Linked DNA regions of Homo sapiens: region 1 is linked to region 2. The links are contacts of gene promoters, found by promoter capture Hi-C in human tissues and cell types (Jung and others, 2019). All regions are on one chromosome and are shown on one strand. Each heading gives the region's core, a stretch centred on a gene start or on the middle of the fragment in contact. The rest is flanking DNA. Distances are from core to core; before and after follow the strand shown. Region 1 has its middle 4.2 kb from the start of CTSG. Region 2 holds the start of GZMB (granzyme B).

Region 1 (4,446 bases), core at 623-3,122, 53 kb after region 2:
CCAGGAAACATGAAAGACCTTGAATCTTTTTTCAAATCTTTCTCTGCCATAGCCAGGGCTTGTGCATTGCCTGTTTCCCTCTAACTACTCTGATGAGAAGATTTTAATCAACTCCCAGTGATTTTGCTACAGCAAAGTATGCATTTCAGGACCCTCTGAGGGGTTCACTCTTTCCTTTGTCACCTTTTCTTTCCTACAAAAATGACAACACAGGCCAGTTCTTGGCAAGAAAGCATCTGGCTCCCTGAAGACAACTGTGGTTGGAAGACAATGACTCTGGCACAGCCCTCTCTCAGCACCGACACTTAATAAAGCAATCACAAGTTCATCAGTGGGAACTTCCCAAGGAGCTTCCAAAATGTCCTTTTAAGAGTGATTTTAAGGTAGCTCTGAGGGTCTGGAGTGACTCAGTACTATGCTGGTCTCCTACAAAGCCAAGAGGAACTAGATTGGTTACTGACTAGAGTAGCATCAGAGGAAATGAGGGGGATTTGACCCAGCAACAACTGGCAACTGCCTTCTCAGAGGATTTGCATTGTCCGCGGCTTATGGGGCCCAGGGAGGAGGTGGAAAACGTCCTACATTAATGTCCCAACATCCCAGAGGAGAAAAAAATTATAACTGACGGAAATGTAATAAAACAGTCAAAAGCAGATGTAACCAGCTATAGATATTGTGAAACATATTGGTCTTTTTGTTCAAATATTACAATTTTTATTAAAATAAAAAATAAATTAAAAGTATGTGCCCCACTCTACTCATATATATTCCCCTCTCCATCTGAATGTTCTCTCTAATCCCCATCCTCTGGCAATCAGATTTTTTTTTAAATGTATTACAAAATATACACACAAGAGAAGTTGATAAAACATAAATGGAGAGTTTAAAGAATAATTATAAGTTAAACACTACATTTTATGTCGGGAAATTGGGTTTGTTCAACACTACTGAAATCTGCCATATGTTTCTTCCTACTCAAAATGCTCTCTCTGTCCTCCAATTCCAGAGTTAACTACTATTCTGACTTTGGTGATAACTATTTCCTTGCTTTTCATTATACATTTACCATATATATACATATATATATGGTACATGTATATATATACATATATACATATATACATATATATGTATATATATGTATATGTATGTATGTATTTCTATCCAGTATAGTTTCATTTTGCCTAGTTTTGAACTTTATATAAATAAAATTAAAGTTGTCTTCTTGGGTTCTTTTAACTTATGCTTGTAAGATTCATTTGCATAGCTGCATGAAGGAAGAGTTTTATTTTTATGGCTATGCAATATTCCATTATATGAATATACTACAATTTGATTATTCATGCTGCTGTTAGTGGACCTTCGAAGTGTTTCCAGTTTGAGGCTATCTTGAACATGCTGCTATGACCTTCTTGGACATGTATCTGGTAGAAATTTGCACCCGATGTTTCTCTAGGGTATATACCTAGGATTGGGAAAAGAGCCAACATGGTAGCTGCAACTGTTATTGCACTTTTTTCTTTTTTCTTTCCTTGAGACAGGGTCTTGTCTTGTCACCCAGGCTGGAATGCAATGGCACAATCATGGCTCACTGCAGCCTCAACTCCCACTTCAGCCTTCCAAGTAGCTGGGACTACAGGCACATGCCATCACACACAGTCTCGAACTCTTGGGCTCAAGTGATCCCCTCACCTTGGCCTCCCAAAGTGCTGGGATTACAGGCATGAGCCACCATACGTGGCCTTCATTGTGCTTCAAATGGGTGCTTCTCTAATATCTAGTCAGAGTAACACTTTTTCATGTTTATTGACCACTTCGATTTCCTGTTTTGAGATAAAACTGTTCAAGTCTTTTGGCTATTGTTTTATTAAGTTAATTGTCTTCTTCATTGCAAGTTTTTGTTTTGTTTTGTTTTGAGAGTCTCACTTTGTTGCCCAGTGAGGCAATCTCCACTTACAGCAACCTCAGCCTCCCCAGTTCCCCAAGCGATTCTCCTGCCTCAGCCTTCCGAGTAGCTGAAGTTACAAGTATGTGCCACCATCCTGGCTAATTTTTTTGTGTATGTTCCTAGTAGAGACAGGTTTTCACCATGTTGGTCAGGCTGGTCTCCAACTCCTGACCTCAAGTGATCGACCCGCCTCGGTCTCCCAAAGTGCTGGGACATGGGTGAGCCACTGCACCTGGCCAGATTTCTGAGTTCTTTATGTAATTTGAATATAAGCCCTTTGTTGTTTATGTGTATTTCAAGCATCTTTGCCTACTCCATGAATGGTCTTTTGTTTCTCTCAATTTAGATGTGTCAAATTCATCAGTCCTTTTCTTCATTATTAGTACTTTATATACAGTACTAAAATCTTTACCTATCATGAAGATATTCTTCCATTATATATTCAAATCATTATTCCTACTTGGATCCATAATCTACCTAGAATAGGTTTTTTGATATTTTGGGAGAAGAAGGTCAAGTTTTATTTTTCCACATAGAAAATATTTGTCTCTATAGGACACCATAAAGGCAATTTATTATCCCAGTACCATTTATTGGGGATAAAAAAAGAAAATAGTCTTTTCCCTATTATGATGAAAGATGCAACATCCATCATAAATCAATCCATCCATGTGTATGTCAGCGTCCACATGCGTGTGGAGTCCTTATTTCTGGTCCATTAGTCCATGTTTCTATGCCTCATCAATACCACGCTATCTTCATTCCCATGGCTTTGTTTGCAAAAGCAAGTCTTCCATCTTATTCTCATTCTCTAATGGTGACCTGGCTATCATTAGCCTTTTGTTTTCCAAATATACTTACAATCAGTTAAGTTCTATAAAATACCGCTCGGTGCAATGAATCTATATAGATCAATTTTGGGAGAGCTGACATTTTTACAATATTTAGTCTTCTTCCAATCTATGAACATGGAATCTCTTCATGTTTAGGTCTTCTTGAATGTCTCTTCATTCAGTTTTATAATTTTCACCAAAGAGGTCTTTCACATATTCTTTTAGATTTACATTTAGTTATTTGATCATTTCCATGCCATTTAAGTATTACTTTCTAAAAATTTCTTTCTAACAGTGTTGCAGTACATGTAGAAATATGATTAATTTTTAAATTGATTTTTTCTAGCAAATCTGTAAAACTCTTATTAATTATGGTAATTTACCTGTAGATGATTTTGGATTGTCTACGTATACTATCACTTCCTCAAATCATTACAATTTTGTTTTCTCTTTTCCTGTCTTTATACCTTTCATTTCCATTTCCTACCTAACTGCACTGGCTAAAACTGCTAATGTACTGTTTGTTGAACAGAACTGATAATAATTTGTATTCAGGCATTATTGTAATGTTTTGCTCTCAAAAAAAGGTTTTAACACTTTTCCATTAGGTATAATGATTGCTGTGGGAATTTTGTGATAACTTCTATCAGATTAAAGACACTCTTTTTATTCCTAGTCTGCTAAGAGTATTTTTTAAGTAAATAAGGGTAAATTTTAGGCCTTCATTGTTTCAATTAAATAATCACATGATGTTTCTTCTTTAGTCAGTTCATATGATGTGTTACAGCAATTTTGCTTTTCAAATGAAAAGTCAACTATGTGTTCCTAGAATAAACCCAAATTACTTATGATATATTAATATCTATTTGCTTATTGATTGATTTGGTTTGCATCAATATTCAAAAGTTTATTGACCTATAATGTTTCATTTCTATATTGTCTCTATTGGGTTTGGCATGGAGGTTATGCTAGTCCCATAAAGGGAAGGGTAGCATCCGTTCTTCAGAAGAAACTATATAGCATACTTTAAATATTTTCTACAGATTTCTCCTTAATGTGGTCATCAAAAACAAAAGTTGAAATTTTGTGGATTCAGCACATTCCCTTGGAACAATAGCAGCTTCCTAACTAGACTCTCATTATTCCTTCAACTTGATCTGATAGTCACTTCAATGCTGGTAGTTCTTCGAGGTTTGTAAGCTTTTTAGATATCTTAAATAGCTTTGATTACTTTTAATGAGAAGATTGCATGAAATTCTAGGTCACTATTAATGAAATTTCCTAATCAATCTTTATTACATGAGTGAATGCATATATTTTACTCCTTTTTTTTCATATGTGCAGGTTTTTCTTTATCCCTTTCTTCTATTTTTAAGTTAAACTAACATTTTTAAAACAAAACAAAATGTTGAAAATTTTTAATAAATTAAATTATGCCAAATGCTAAGGCACTAATAAAGGTGCTATACTATTCTCTCTTTGCTCCCTTCTTCTTCACGTTACTTTTCAGATGCATAAAGACGTTTTATAGAGCCTGTACAAGAGAAGAGGTTAAGCTCTGTGCAGCTCTAAAAATAAGTGAAAAAATTATATATTTATGTATAAGGAAAGGAACCCTAATTTTCATGAGATTTTCAAGAGGGCCTATTATACTCCATAAAGACT
Region 2 (4,221 bases), core at 1,411-3,910:
ATTTGACACCAAAAGCACAAGCAACAAAAGATAAAATTGATACATTTGAATGCATAAAATTTTTTTAATTTGCACATGGAATGACAATATCAAGAAAATGAAAAGACAATCTGCAGAATGGGAGAAAATATTTACAAGCCACATATCTGATAAGGGCTGAGTATCCAGAATATATAACAAACTCTTCCAACTCAACAATGAAAACAAAAACAACGCAATTTTAAGAATGGGCAAAGGACTTGAATCAACATTTCTCCAAAGAAGATATGCGAATAACCAGCAAACACATGAAGTGATGCTCAACATCATTACTCATAAAGGAAATGTGAATCAAAACCATATGACATACTACTTTACACCCATTAGGATGAAGATAATAATTTTAAAATAACAAGTGTCAGCAAGGATGCAGAGAAATAGGAACTTTCCTATGTTGCTGATAAGCAATGCAAAAGGGTACAACCACTGTGGAAAACAGTTTGGTGGTTCCTTAAAAAATTAAAAATAGGATTATTGTATAACTCAGAAATTCCAAAAGTATATATATTTGGTATATATCCAAAAGAACTGAAAACATATTGTTCATGCAGAAATTTGTACACAAATGCTTATTATTGCTGCATTAGCTACAATAGCCAAAAGATGAAAACAACCCAAATGTCCATTGACAGATGAACAAATAACTTGTGGTATAAACATACAATGGGAATATTATTTTTCCATTAAAAAGAACGAATACTGGCATGTGCTACAGCTTGTATGAATCTCAGAAACATTATTACAAGTGAATGTAGCCAGCCACAACAGGTCATGTATTGTGTGATTCCGTTTATATGAAATATCCAGAGGTGGTGGTTGCAGATTTTGAATGTGCTAAATGTCACTGAATTGAATACTTTAAAATGGTTAATTGTATGTTATGTGAATTTTACCTCAATTTTTTAAATGGGTCATAAACTTATGTTTAGCATAATCCCCTTTTAATTTTAAAAAATGCAGATATTACATGAGAAAAAATGTGCTAGAGCATATTTCAAGACATTAAAGATGGTTATCAGTGAATGATGAGAAATTAGGTAATGTTTATTATTTTCGCTTTGCTAAAATTATTTAAAAATTACTTGCATATTAAATTTTTTAATGCCTAGGAAAGAAAGACTATAGTTGTATTGACTAAGATTTCTACGAGCATGGGGAAAATGCTTAATTTGTAGGGTTAATCAAGGATAAAATAAATTGCATTGTATGTACAATGTGATCCCAAGTATTTAAAACACACTGCTTATGGTAACAGTCAGTCTGTGGGAGACAGGTTAAAAAGTGATATTTTCCCTTCCTACTTTCCAAATTTTCTTAACAAACATATATTATGACTATAATCAGAAAAAATTATTTTTAAAACGTCTACTATGGGGCAAGCTAGGTTCAAAAAATAGAAGTTTGATAAATGTAGTTGGCTTGCTATTGACAAGGAAGACGTTTACACTGGAATTCTATATTTTGAGATATACCATTCCTCATAGAAAAATTTCCTCACAGAAAATATAAAGGTGGAAACAAATCACAAGAATCGAACCATGTAGAGAGACTTAGTTGTCTTTTAACAGAATTGGGCACGGGCTGTTCAGAAACAACAATCTTTCACATCCATTATAATGATAGCATTAGTGTAGTTTGTTTAGCAAATGTTTACTGTGAGCCTGTTATGTGCTGAGCCTGCTATGTAAGAAGTGTGGCTCTCTGGACAGGAGACAGAATACTAAACAACACAACTACTGATCTTTGGCTGCCTGGCATGCTTCCTCACTTCATATGGTATCAGCAATTTAGCACCACAAACGTCCTTTAGAGAACCAGCCCTTTCTCATTCTTGGTTCTAGTGGCTTGAGTAGACTGACCCCAGCCTACCCAAAGTGGATTTGACTCCTAGCAATTCATTAATCTAGCCCAATAAAATGTCAAGTACAGGACTTTTATTGAAAGCATTCAGAAAAGAGGTGGACTCTCACACTAAACATTTGTAACTAAATAAGGGATGTTAGAAATTCTCTAGAAAGGAAGCTATGATAATAAATGGGTTGCTAGATGGGTCTAGTAGATGGTGGCCATGCTTTGTTACTGCCTTGTGTATTGTGCTACCATAGCCCTCCCCAAACTGTACTCTGGCTCCTGGCATTTCCGTCTCTTCAACCAGATGGTCAGCTCTCTAAGTGAAGGAGACACATCTCCAACATGCTTGGTTCTAGCACAACAGAAGGGCTCAAACACATACCTGCTAAAGAAACTATCCTGATGGATTTAGCAGCATGGCCATGAGGCATTGGCGGTTCTATCACTGGGAACTCAGGTTTCTGGTGCTCCAGTACCTCTACTGGCTGATACCACATCCTACAATTCACTTCATAGGCTTGGGTTCCTGCTCTGGGCTGAATAGGTGGTCCACTCTGAGTCATCAGCTGTGGGTGATGATGTGGTCACTGCATGATTCTCACACAAGCACCCAGAGGACGTCATCAGGCAGAGGCAGTGGGGGTGGGCAGCATTTACAGAAAATCTGTGATGAGACACCACAAAACCAGAGGGGAACATGAAGTCACTGAGCCTGCTCCACCTCTTTCCTCTCCCAAGAGCTAAAAGAGAGCAAGGAGGAAACAACAGCAGCTCCAACCAGGGCAGCCTTCCTGAGAAGATGCAACCAATCCTGCTTCTGCTGGCCTTCCTCCTGCTGCCCAGGGCAGATGCAGGTGAGTGACCGTCTCCACCCTCGGGGGCCCAACCCCATCCCACAGGTCTCCTGCCCTTTCTCCACATTCCTGATCCATCTATCTACCAGGAATGTTCTGAACTCCAGCTCCCATTCTACCAAGACCCCCCAAGTGTGATGCTGGATAAGCTATCAGCAGGAATGGCAGAGCAGCAGGCCATTCTCAAGAAGAGCCAGTGGGTACTATCCCTTCCCCAGAGCCCACCTTTGTCACCTGGAGAGTAGGACTTTCCTAGAAGTAAATGGCAGAGGATGGGAAACTAGAAAAGAGAAATATTAAATTATTCTAGAGTAGGCCTGGCTTCTGTTTCTGGGATAAGACAGGTGCTTCTCTCACTGTCTACTTAGGAGAGAAACCCAGAGCTCAGCTGACAGCAGAATTGGTACAATCACTGTCCTCAGAACACTGTTAATGTGTTTGCTCAGTCCCATTCTCCAACTCTGCTTTTCTTCCCTGGCCTTTGGTGGCTCCCCTCTTTCCAAGGATGAGGCACTACGGCAGGCCCCAGCTTCCCTGCTTTCTAGAATTCCACCAGCACTGCTCTACCAGCCCTCATCCAGAGGCTAACTGGAGCCAGTCCATCATGCAGCCATGAACATTTACTGGGCACCCACTACATGTCAGGCTCTAGGAAACAGGATATGACAGTATCTAGATCCCTCCACTTACACCCTGGCCATTAGAAAGCAGCACTATCCTAGACACCACAGGACTCATAAGGGTCTTGGAAACTCACCTGAAACAAAGCAAAGTCAGGAGAGGAATGATCAGGAGCCTCTGGGATTTCACTGTCCCTAAGACAGGTATGCTCGCCTTCAACTACATATGGAAGAAAGATTTACAGACCAAAGTCTGCTGTTCTTCCCTTTTTCAGAGCAGGAAATTGAAGCCCCTTCCTCCAGGCCACTCCCAACTCCAGGCTATCCCAGGCTCCCAAATGCCCAGGAGTTCTGGAGCCACTAAGCAGGTGCCCACCCAGCAGATTCCATGGGTGCCCACAAGCAGACAGACTTTTCCTTCAGGGGAGATCATCGGGGGACATGAGGCCAAGCCCCACTCCCGCCCCTACATGGCTTATCTTATGATCTGGGATCAGAAGTCTCTGAAGAGGTGCGGTGGCTTCCTGATACGAGACGACTTCGTGCTGACAGCTGCTCACTGTTGGGGAAGGTGAGGAGCAGAAAACAGCCCACACCCTCCTGGAAACACTCCACAGAGACCCCTGCCTTCTTCCCAAGGAGCTCCCTGGGCTCCTGTGAACACACATGCCAGGAGGTCTCCTTAGAGGGTGAGAAAAGGGCAGTTAAGTTTGTGGAGAGAGGGGAAGGTTGGTTCCAGAGGTGCTGCTGAAGTAAGAAACAGCAGAGTGACCAAGCCTGCCATATTTAGAACTGGGGGCATACTTTGGCATAGAATACAAACTGAAGCAATTCCACCTGTGTTTCTAGGGGGAACC

The links. Contacts are between HindIII fragments. The study calls those that stand out against the background at their distance.
Region 1: a contact is called between a fragment that was not itself captured here and the fragment with the promoter of GZMB in region 2, in 1 of the 25 tissues and cell types used here (thymus).

Annotation. Positions count from the first base shown.
Region 1 is chr14:24,578,183-24,582,628 of GRCh38, reverse strand. No RefSeq gene overlaps it. Among named protein-coding and RNA genes, the nearest start is that of CTSG, 4.2 kb to the right of the region's middle. The HindIII fragment of the contact is 5,672 bases long and covers 1-4,446 here.
Region 2 is chr14:24,632,629-24,636,849 of GRCh38, reverse strand. GZMB (granzyme B) reads left to right here and starts at 2,660. Exons shown (of 5, transcript NM_004131.6): 1 at 2,660-2,744; 2 at 3,788-3,935. The coding sequence starts at 2,690. It overlaps GZMH-AS1 (GZMH and GMZB antisense RNA 1), which reads right to left and starts at 3,748. Exons shown (of 3, transcript XR_007064087.1): 1 at 3,502-3,748; 2 at 1-2,554. RefSeq lists an enhancer at 2,082-3,281. The HindIII fragment of the contact is 16,614 bases long and covers 1-4,221 here.